Regions from separate parts of the Homo sapiens genome. Here regions 2 and 3 are each linked to region 1. The links are contacts of gene promoters, found by promoter capture Hi-C in blood cells and fetal thymus (Javierre and others, 2016). All regions are on one chromosome and are shown on one strand. The core of a region is centred on a gene start or on the middle of the fragment in contact, and the rest is flanking DNA. Distances in the headings are between cores, read along the strand shown.

Evidence for each region. Contacts are between HindIII fragments. The CHiCAGO score rates a contact against its expected background, and 5 or more counts as called.
Region 2: a contact is called between a fragment that was not itself captured here and the fragment with the promoter of MXI1 in region 1, in 2 of 17 cell types (naive B cells and naive CD4 T cells). The highest score is 5.3, in naive B cells.
Region 3: a fragment that was not itself captured here is called in contact with the fragment with the promoter of MXI1 in region 1 in 3 of 17 cell types (monocytes, neutrophils and total CD4 T cells); the score reaches 5.8 in monocytes.

The regions. Positions count from the first base shown.
Region 1 is chr10:110,205,957-110,209,058 of GRCh38, reverse strand. It overlaps MXI1 (MAX interactor 1, dimerization protein), which reads right to left and starts at 1,454. Exons shown (of 6, transcript NM_130439.3): 1 at 977-1,454. The coding sequence starts at 1,250. RefSeq lists a silencer at 1,204-1,283 and an enhancer at 2,873-3,102. The HindIII fragment of the contact is 6,685 bases long and covers 1-3,102 here.
Region 2 is chr10:109,949,053-109,952,533 of GRCh38, reverse strand. All of the region lies in intron 3 of ADD3-AS1 (ADD3 antisense RNA 1), which reads left to right. Among named protein-coding and RNA genes, the nearest start is that of XPNPEP1, 27 kb to the right of the region's middle. The HindIII fragment of the contact is 1,807 bases long and covers 377-2,183 here.
Region 3 is chr10:110,489,773-110,493,130 of GRCh38, reverse strand. All of the region lies in intron 1 of DUSP5-DT (DUSP5 divergent transcript), which reads left to right. Among named protein-coding and RNA genes, the nearest start is that of DUSP5-DT, 5.0 kb to the left of the region's middle. The HindIII fragment of the contact is 5,633 bases long and covers 1-3,358 here.

The DNA.
Region 1 (3,102 bases), core at 205-2,704:
GGGTTCCCAGCACACCCCCACCCACGCACTACTATCCACGTGAATCTGGGGGTGGGCGGGTGGGGGGAGTAGAAATCGACCAGGAAGGCGTTTGCCTTGCTTGCCCTGTGCGCTCACTCAAGAGCCGTCTCCCGGAAAATAAAGAAAAAGCACAGAACAGCCCACACCTTCTTCCCCAACTATTGTTTCTCAAAGATCCCAAAGTTTCCTTCTAGCCGCGTCCCCACGGCCAAGTTTCCCGGGCTCAGGACGGCGTGTCCGGGGCGAGCTGCTGGCGTTGCTTGGCCCCGCCGGCCTCCTTCTTTGGGGGGGGGGGGGCGGCGGTGGCACCCCACGGCAACGGACGTGCAGGGGGACTGTGTCCGTAGACGTGATGGCCTGAGCCCAGTCCTGCTGCTAGAGGGAAGGAAAAAGGCGAAGTAGGAGGGAGAGAGAGAGACAGAGCCGAGCCCACGCCGTGGAGAGCTGTTTGGTTGTTATTGTTGTAGTGTGTGTCTGTGTGTTTTCTTTCTGGAACCTCTGAGCTCTGCCTATGGTTTCCAACTTTCGGCTTCTAATCCCCACCCCACCCAGGAACGAGCAACAGAAAAACAACACTTGTCTGCCTGAGAAGGCTCCGGAAAAAAAAAAAAAAAAAAGGAAGAAAAGCGACCTCAAAGAGATGAGCTCTCGGCTCAGTTGTCAGCAAACAACAACACTCCCCCGCTCCTCCGCTGGGCCATCCTCCCAGCCCCAGCCCGCCGGAGAGGACAGACCGACGCACCGACAGGCCCCTCTCCCCCTCGCCCGTCTTTGTTACATCTTTAGCAGCTTTGTGCGTGCGTGTCCTTTCTCCGGTGTCATCGGCTTTACTGCCAAGGGCTGGATGTGTATGTTGGGCGGGGGGGGGACGGGCCGAGCTCGCAACAGGGGTCGCCCAAGTGGGCGAGAAAGAAAGAACCGGGCGCCGAGGAAGAGCAGGGGCCCCCAAACTTACTTTTGTTTTCTTTCTCGATCTGCTCCAGGTAGCTGGCGGCCTCGAGCAGAATCTGCACGTTCTGCAGAAAAGTGTTGATGTGCTTCTCCATCGAGTTCTCGCTGGTGTTGAAAATGTCTGAGAAGGGGCACCTGGGCTTGGCCCCAGCGGGGTCCTCGGGCAGGGCCGGGGGCTGGGGCGCGGCCACGGCGGGGGGCACAGCCGGGGGCGCGGCGGGGGCCAGCCCCGCGCCCTCGCAGCGCGCCTCCTTGCGCGGCCGCCCGCGTTTGCCCATGGAGGAGCGGGGGTCCGCCGAGCTCGTCCTCTAACGGGGCTGCGCGGCCCGGCCGAGCTCCGGGCCCCCAGGGAGACCCGGCCGGCTGGAGCAGAGAAGGCGCCGGGGCGAAAAGCCGGCCTGACTTCCCGAGCCTCGCTGCCTGCAGTTGTGTGTGTGAGTGTATGGGAGTGTGTGTCGGTCTCGCTGTGAGTCTGTGTGTATGGGAGATTGAATGAACCTACAGGACAGACGGAGGCACTCTGGCGCCTGGGTCCTAGTGCGAGCCTGTCGCCATCGGACCGGTCAAAATAAAAGGTGGAGACTAGCGAGCGAGGCAGGGACCGCCCCTGCCCGTCCCCGCAGGCTTCCCTGCCTCTCCCCAAGGCTTACCACAGAGTAGAACACTGTCTTTTAACCGGAATGGAAAAAAATACCTGATGTCTCTGGGTGCACCTGCATAAAAACAAACTACTTTTTTCACAGAAAAATAATGCCTCAGAAAGTGTCCAGCACAATGCCTGGCACATAGTTAGGTCCCCATACATGGTGGCTGCTATGACTTAAAAATAAATAAATAAAAGCTCCCCAATCCAAATGGGAAGAAGGGAACCAGTGTGTAACCAGAAGATCCCCCCACCCCCAACACAAACACTCCTACTCACAGACACACATACATACGTAATCACGCACACACTTGCGAGGCACCTGTGTGTGCCTTCACACAGTCAAATGAAATCCCAGGCCGTCCAAATCCGAGTTACAGATTTACTCATGCCTTTCTCCCTTCAAATGCAAAGTTATTTTCCAGAAGTGGGAGGAGATGTCAGCATCCCTCTCCACACTCCTCTGCCCAGCCTTGGTTCAGCTGTGCAAAGCTCACACCAGGATGCCTCCACACCTGGCTCCCTTTAATTTGAGAGGCAGAAGTGGCAGCTCAGGAACCACCCCCCTCCCCAGCTGAATTCCACCTTTTGCCTCTGAAAACCCCTACCCCAGCTGACATTGTTTCACTGCCACTGCTGTCCGCAATCATGGATGCTTTCCAGCCCTGGGAAGTACTGGAGGTGTCAGGGGATGATTGAAGGCTGCTCTAGGGTGCCATAGGAAAGGGTTCAAATCCCAGCTCTGCTGCATACAGACTGTGTGAGCTTGGACAAGTCCCTTAACCTCTCTTGGCCTAAGTTTCCACATCATTGAAATGTGTGATAAGATGCTTGTGTATTGTATCTGACTTAGCACACTCTGGCCCATGGTAAGCTCTTTTTCTTCCAATCCAGACCCAGGCAAGAGCCTGAGTCCCCTATTCTGATGTAACTTGTATCTAAGAAAGGAACAAGATGTAGTGAACAAGACTCTTCTGCACTTCCTTGGAAAATATCTCTATGACAAGCCCATCTAAATATGGTTACTTTGCAAGGTCACCTGGAGTTTTCCTCCAGGGGAACCATTTATATAGAGGACAAAGACAATGCTGCCCCCTGGAGGTGTGCGATGCAGCCACCCTACTCAAAGGCAGCTTCATACACATTGTCATAAAAACTCTTGATGGCCGGACGCAGTGGCTCACGCCTGTAATCCCAGCACTTTGGGAGGCCAAAGCGGGCAGATCACCTGAGGTTGGGAGTTCGCGACCAGCCTGACCAACATAGAGAAACGCTGTCTCTACCAAAAATACAAAATTAGCCGGGCGTGGTGGCGCATGCCTGTAATCCCAGCTACTCCGGAGGCTGAGGCAGGAGAATGGCGTGAACCCGGGAGGCGGAGCTTGTAGTGAGCCGAGATAGCGCCACTGCACTCCAGCCTGGGCGACAGAGCCAGACTCCGTCTCAAAAAAAAAAAAAAAAAAAGTTTATCTTCCATTATTAGAACA
Region 2 (3,481 bases), core at 31-2,530, 260 kb after region 1:
TGTTCATTAAAAATGTACCCTTCTCTTTCTGAGTTTTGTTAGCCTAAATTTTCCAATTTTCTTTGCATTTTTGGTGACATTTAAATTATCCTAATGAGGTTTCACTACTGCTTATAGATTGGCATTCCAGGCAGGTCTACCAGCTTCCTCCTAATATAGGATTGCTCAACTCTTTCTCTACATTTTAGGAGAAAAACTGAGAAGATTTCTTCTTTATTTCCAGTGGAATGTCTTTTGTCCTTCTCTGATGTCTTGGCATCAACTTATGTTTGTTATTGAAGGATTTCCTGAGCAGCTTATCATGGTACTTTCATATACAAAGATAATTCTTTCCCTAAAATAAATTTAGGTTCTAGCTGGTAATATCATAAAAGCTTTTTTTTTTTTTTAACCTTGTTTCATATGTACTTGATAGAATGCAGTCATTTTAGCCCTGGAACTAAATTAACTTTCAACTCCAGCGGGGTTGTCATGTACAGTTGTATAGGTTGTACACTAAGCCACCCTAGGGAGCACCTTTTACCTATAGTCTATGTCACTGGTAATTTCTTTTTTTTCTTTTTTTGAGATGGAGTCTCACTCTGTCACCCAGGCTGGAGTGCAGTGGTGCAGTTTCGGCTCACTGCAACCTCCGCCTCCCAGGTTCAAGCCATTCTCCTGCCTCAGCCTCCCGAGTAGCTGGGATTACAGGTATGTGCCACCACGCCCGGCTAATTTTATTTTGTATTTTTTTTTTTTTAGTAGAGGTGGGATTTCACCATATTGGCCAGGCTGTTCTCGAACTCCTGACCTTGTGATCCACCCACCTTGACCTCCCAAAGTGCTGGGATTACAGGTGTGAGCCACTGCACCTGGCTGTCACTGGTAATTTCTATAGTTGTGTAGTCCACAACCTGTACAACCATATGTTGTATAGTCCTGTCTCAAGGACCACCCACCATCCAACTAACTATTAATCTCAATGGCCAAATTCCAAATTTCTGGAGGAAAACATTTGGTGGTCCATTTTGGGCCAGTTGTCCTCTCTTCTCCAATCAGATATGCTCAGATTGGAAACATCATGTTGTAGGCACATATGTCCAGAGCCTCAATGCCTTTGGAGAGCCCATCTGGGGGAAATGGGAAACTGTTCTCAGAGAAGGGGTTGTATGAGAAAGGCAGACATTTCAAAACACGGCATTACCAAGGGCCAGTGATTAAAAAAATGAATAGTCCAAAGGTATATCGAATATAATCTAAGCTGATGTTTTTCAAACTATGAGGTATGACCCATTAATGGGCTATGAAATCAATGTAGTGAGTCATATTTCTAAATAACATAGAAATGAAATAAAAGAGATTAGAGATTAGGAAATATTAGCATGCAACCTACCTAGTAAAGGTAAACTAGTATATAAAGTGTGGATTGTGGTGCAACATGATCAAAAACCAAACCAAAGCCCAAACCATTTCACTCCTATCTGCCTGCCCACAGATTTGATGCAGGTGCCCTAGGGACATTTATCTGAGAGGATCTTTCTAGGCCTTGTCTCCCTCACTACTCCTGTGATCTTGCCTTATTTTCCTTGCTGAAACTTTGTTTTGAATCTGATTCCTGCTCCCCATTCATTCAGGTCTCAGACTTTCTTTCTCTCAGCTCCATGTCCAGGCCCAACTCTGGGAAGTTCAGCCTGGTTTGACTCCCCAGCGTCCCAGGAAGTGAAAGTTGAAAAAATTATAGCACTGTGAGTTGCCAAGCCCAGCCTTCCTTTGCCTCACTTGCTAGGAAATCGAACCCTTCCTTGGTTCCTGAGCCCACCCTTATCTTGGCAGATGGTTGGTTGGAGTCTCCAGCCTGCAGAAGTAGGACCTCAATTTAGTTGTGCTCATCTGAGCCCAGTATCCCAATGGCATGGCTTATGTCCCAGAGGCTTGCTTGCTTCCTGAACTACAGCCTATGGCTACCTTTGCCTAATTGAAACAATTGAACTTTTGCTTACATTTTCTGCTCTGTATTCTCTGTGCTATGGTTTTGTAAGCCAAGTTGTCCTGGAGATTGGACAATGTCGTTAACATCTCCCTCTTCCCATTGATAGGCACAGGTTATGTCCCTTGTCTGGATGAACCCATGAGCAGAATCCTGCTGCCTGCCTGTCTTCCAGAACCCCCTCCCACATGTTGCCCATGGAGATCACCTACAAGCTTGCTGGGGACAACAGTTTTGTGCATCAGGCATGTACATGGGACCACCCTCCTCCTACTTCTCACACCCATGGATTCCTTCTCTGGATCTATGGGTTTATTGTCTGTGGCTTCCTATACCTGCTTCCTGTCTCTTGATTTTGATGACTAGTTTGGATGTCCTTCTCTGCATCCATGGCCTTGGTTCTCCTACCTCCTTTCTTTTTTGAACTGGCCAAGCCTTCGAGGGATATCTACAAGTTCTTCTAATAATTCCCCTTATATAGGGTTGCTGGATTTAGCAAATAAGAATACAGGACACCTTGTTAAATTTACATTTCAGCTTAGCAACAAATTTACATTTCAGCTTAGCAATAAATAATATTTGCATGTCCCATGCCATCTATGGGACATACTTCTATTAGGAAATTATTCACTGTTTATCTGAAATTCAGATTTAACTGTGTATCCTGTTTTTTATCTGGCAACCCTACACCTACAGTTCCTTGCTGAGGAAATGGCCTTAAGCTCTTTATGCACAGGTAGGTGGTCATGCTGTGTCCCATAGGACCCCACCCCTACCCCATCCCCAACGTCATAGCTAATTGGATCAGGAGTGAGCACTTGACCCAAGGTCAGCTAGTGCATAGGTTGGCCCATAGTCTAAAAAGTAGCCTGGTGCAAGACCTTTGCACTAGAGGGAAATAGTGTTTAAGTGAACCAAATCAGAGGTTCTCCCTCAGTAGTCAGAGAGTAAGAGAATAATCAGTAAGAGAGAGTGAGAGAATCAGTTGGTAGGAAGAAAAAAGCCAAAAGATACATAGAGAGAAAAAAACAGTAAATACAATTCATGAAGTCGTAGAAGTCCTGAACAAGCTGCTCTATGGGGAGGGAAGAAGGATGGAATCAGGACTTCGTCAGTTGCAACAGGAGCCGCTGAAGTAGAAGGAGAGAGAAAGGAAACAGCGGAGGCATGGTAATGGTAGGATGCCAGGGACCAGTCAGCACCAGACCTGAAAGTCCATGAGATAACCTGCTGATTTGACTACCAGCTTCCAGATCCCAAACCAAGAGCAAAACTCCCTAAGACTCCCAAACTCCCTAGGCTGGGCCGTGGATTTTTTTCTTTCTGTGCGGTCTGGTGGTTTAGCTTGGTTCACACGAGAGGCCTACCAACTTGGCTGAGCTTTCTTATTTCTATTTCTATCATTACAATGAATCTCCATAATTTCTGGTGTGAAGGTAACCTAACCTAGAAGGGAAGCACTCTTAGCTTTGTTTGTGCTGTTCAACACACCATCCAGGCGAAGGGGACCCACCC
Region 3 (3,358 bases), core at 301-2,800, 280 kb before region 1:
GCCCCCTCTGTTTATTTGTTTGTTTTTAATTATGAAAGTAGGGCATGGTCATTGTTGAAAATGTGAGAAATGCAGAGAAGTTAAAATGATGCTTTTTGTTTAGGGCGCTGCTGCTTCTGGCTTAAGATCCTAAATCAAAGCAGCTGCCAGATCTGGACCTAAGACTTGCTTCCCATCACCTTACATAAAAGAAAGAGCACTGGACTAGGAATCAAAGATCTGAATTCCCATCAAATCTCTGCTATTACTAGCTTTTATCTCTATTTATTTATTTATCTGTCTATCTATCTAGTACCTTTTGTGAATATGAGTGTTTCTCACCGAGGCCCTCCCATCTCTCTTGCCCCCGATCCTGGAATGGACCAAATACCTTGTTTACTGAAGGATACAGATGGCATGTGACTGTTGAGAATCACTCACCCTCTTAGAGCCATGGTTTCCTCTTCTATAAAATAGGGATGTTCGTGCCTATTTGCTAATCATGAGTGACAATGACATAAGGTACATAAAGCTGTACTGCATGATGCAAACATAACATCATATTTGTAGGGTTGTTGCTAATAATACTATCCATCAGCAAAGCAGTCATTCATTTACTCAGTCAAATACTGATGCACTGGTACATTCAGTTTCCTCTTTTGTAAAATGGGGATAAAAATAGGACTTAGCTCATAGGGTATTTAAGATTCAGTGAGTTAATATATATAAAATACTTAGAGCAGTCCTTGGAACATATTAAGAACTCAATACATATTAGCTAGTTGAGCAGGCTGTAGTATTTGTTCCAGCCAAGAAAAGACTGTTCTCTAACAGCACAGGAAATAAAGATGGGGTTAGGCACGACACGGCAGCAGGACTTACCTTCTGTCTAATTCAGCTGGCAGTCAAAGAAAGAATTATTAGAAGCCTATGAGCTTGTTCTCCCAAAGATCTACTGAGTACAGGGGGATATTTAAAGAATAAAAATCCCTAGACCCACTTACAGTACAGGAGAGACAAGAAGCTGTTCACACAATAACAAGTGCTAAATTCCTTGATTTTTATACTGACAGCTGAAGTTTTAGAGAAGAGAAGGATCAATAAAGACCGGAATATTAAAGCAGACAGGCCTAAAAGAGGATTTTAGATTTGATAAAGAATTCCTCCAGTTCTCAGAGCAGGGACTTTGGAGGGTAACAACTTGGATTTCAGTCCTTGCCTGCCACTTACTGATTGTATGACCTTGGAAAAGTTACTTCACTTCTGTGAGCAATGATTCTCTCATCTGGAAAACAAAACAAAACAAAAAAACTAACAAGGGTGATAATAATACCTACCTCCCTACCTCATAGGGCTGATGAGAAGATTAAAAAGTACCTACATAAAGCCCTTCTCTGCGTGCCTGGAGCATGGCAAGGGCTCCATGTGAACCACTATTTTTTTTTTTTTTTTTTAATGAAAAGTCATGGGCAGCACCAAAGCTCAGAATTTTGGCAGTAAGGAATTATGATTCTACATTGAAATTTGCCAGAAGGGGAGCTGACTGCCTCATGAGACATTTTTGAATGAGGCCAAAAAAGGAAACAAGTGTATCCTGGGATTTTACGAGATGCTAGGTATGTCCTTAGCACTTAATCCTCATGACTACCCTATGATGTAAGTACTATCTGTTGTCCCTATTTTACAGTTGGCCAAGGTCACATAGCTGAAACGGACTTCTGTGTGTCTTCTAACTTTTGCTTTCAGGTCTGGAAAAATGCAATGTAAACCTAGACCCTCTTTGAAATACTGAAGATGGTAATCTTATCCCTTCCTCACTTTCTGTTTTCTAAAATAACAGTCCTTGTTCCTTACAATGTCTGTTTTCCAGATTCTTAGAAGACTTTTTGCTTATTTTCCATAACTCTTTACTTGTGATCCCTGAATGACACCGGGGGTATAGCAGAGAATGTCCATTTCCTCAAAGTTCAAAGGTCCTACAAAAAATAGTTGCTAGCCTGGCATGATGGTGTGTGCCTGTAGCCTCAGCTACCTGGGAGGCTGAGGCAAGAGGATTGCTTGAGCTGAGGAGTTTGAGGCTGCAGCGAGCCATGATCACGCCACTGCTCTCCAGCCTGGATGACAAAGCAAGATCACATCTTAAAATAAAATAAAATAAATTTTAAAAATATATAAAAAATAAAAAGTGGTGCCACTAAGTGTCCTGGACAGCATTAGAGAAAGCAAGAGATAGAAGAGTGCAAACACCTGAAAGGAAAGAGATGCGGGTCTTCCCTCTCCCTTGAGTAGCCACCGGCTATCCCTGGAGCATAGGAGTAGGATTTTATCCCCCAGCTTCGGCCTCCCCAGGCAGCACTTCCTTTCTGTGCTTTGACTCCAATTTGGATGGTGCTCAGGCGGGAAGTAGGCTGGGGTGGGAGGAGTTTAGGGGAATATTTGTCTTCTCTCCTGTTTTGCCCTAGAGATTCTGGCCAGGAAGACAAATGGCTAGTACCACTTGGTCCTTTTCTTTTCTTCTTTTGAGACAGGGTCTTGTTCTGTTGCCCAGGCTGGAGTGCAGTGGCGTGATCGCGGCTCACCGCAGCCTCCCAGGCTCAAGCATTCCTCTCACCTCAGCCTCCTGAGTAGCTGGGACCACAGCTCCACTAATTTTGAAGTTTTTTTGGTAGACATGAAGTCTCCCTGTGTTGCCCGGGCTGGTCTCAAACTCCTGACCTCAAGCAGTCCTCCTGTCTTGGCCTCTGGAAATGCTGGGATTACAGGCGTGAGCCACTGTGCTGGCCTCTTTTTTCTTTTTCTTTTTTTTTAAGGTTTTTATTTGTTAAATGGGAAGTCTGTGCCATCAACTGAGCATTGTATTTTCTCCTTAGTAAGAGCCTGGGTGGGCCACTGGGAGAGAACTATACATTAAATGTAAGTAGCCTCTGGGTAGAGAGCCCCTGGCTGGTTTCCTTTCCTTTCTCTCCTTTTCTCTACTTTGGTGTCTGGAGGCATTTCCCAGACTCCAGTTTCTTACCACCCTCACGGATTTTGCTATTGTATTATCACCTCCTTTATCATTCCCAAAATTGACTTTATGGAGACTCATTAAAAGAAAAAATCATCGGCCGGGAGCGGTGGCTCACGCCACGAAGGCGGGCGAATCACCTGAGGTGCGGAGTTCGTGACCAGCCTGACCAAAACAGAGAAACCCCATCTCTACTAAACAATACAAAATTAGCTGGGCGTGGTGGTGCACGCCTGTAATCCCAGCTACTGGGGAGGCTGAGACAAGAGAATCACTTGAACCCGGGAGGCAGAGGTTGCAGTGACCAAAGATCGCACTATTGCACTCCAGCCTGGGCAACAAGAGCAAAACTCTATCTCAAAAAAAAAAAAA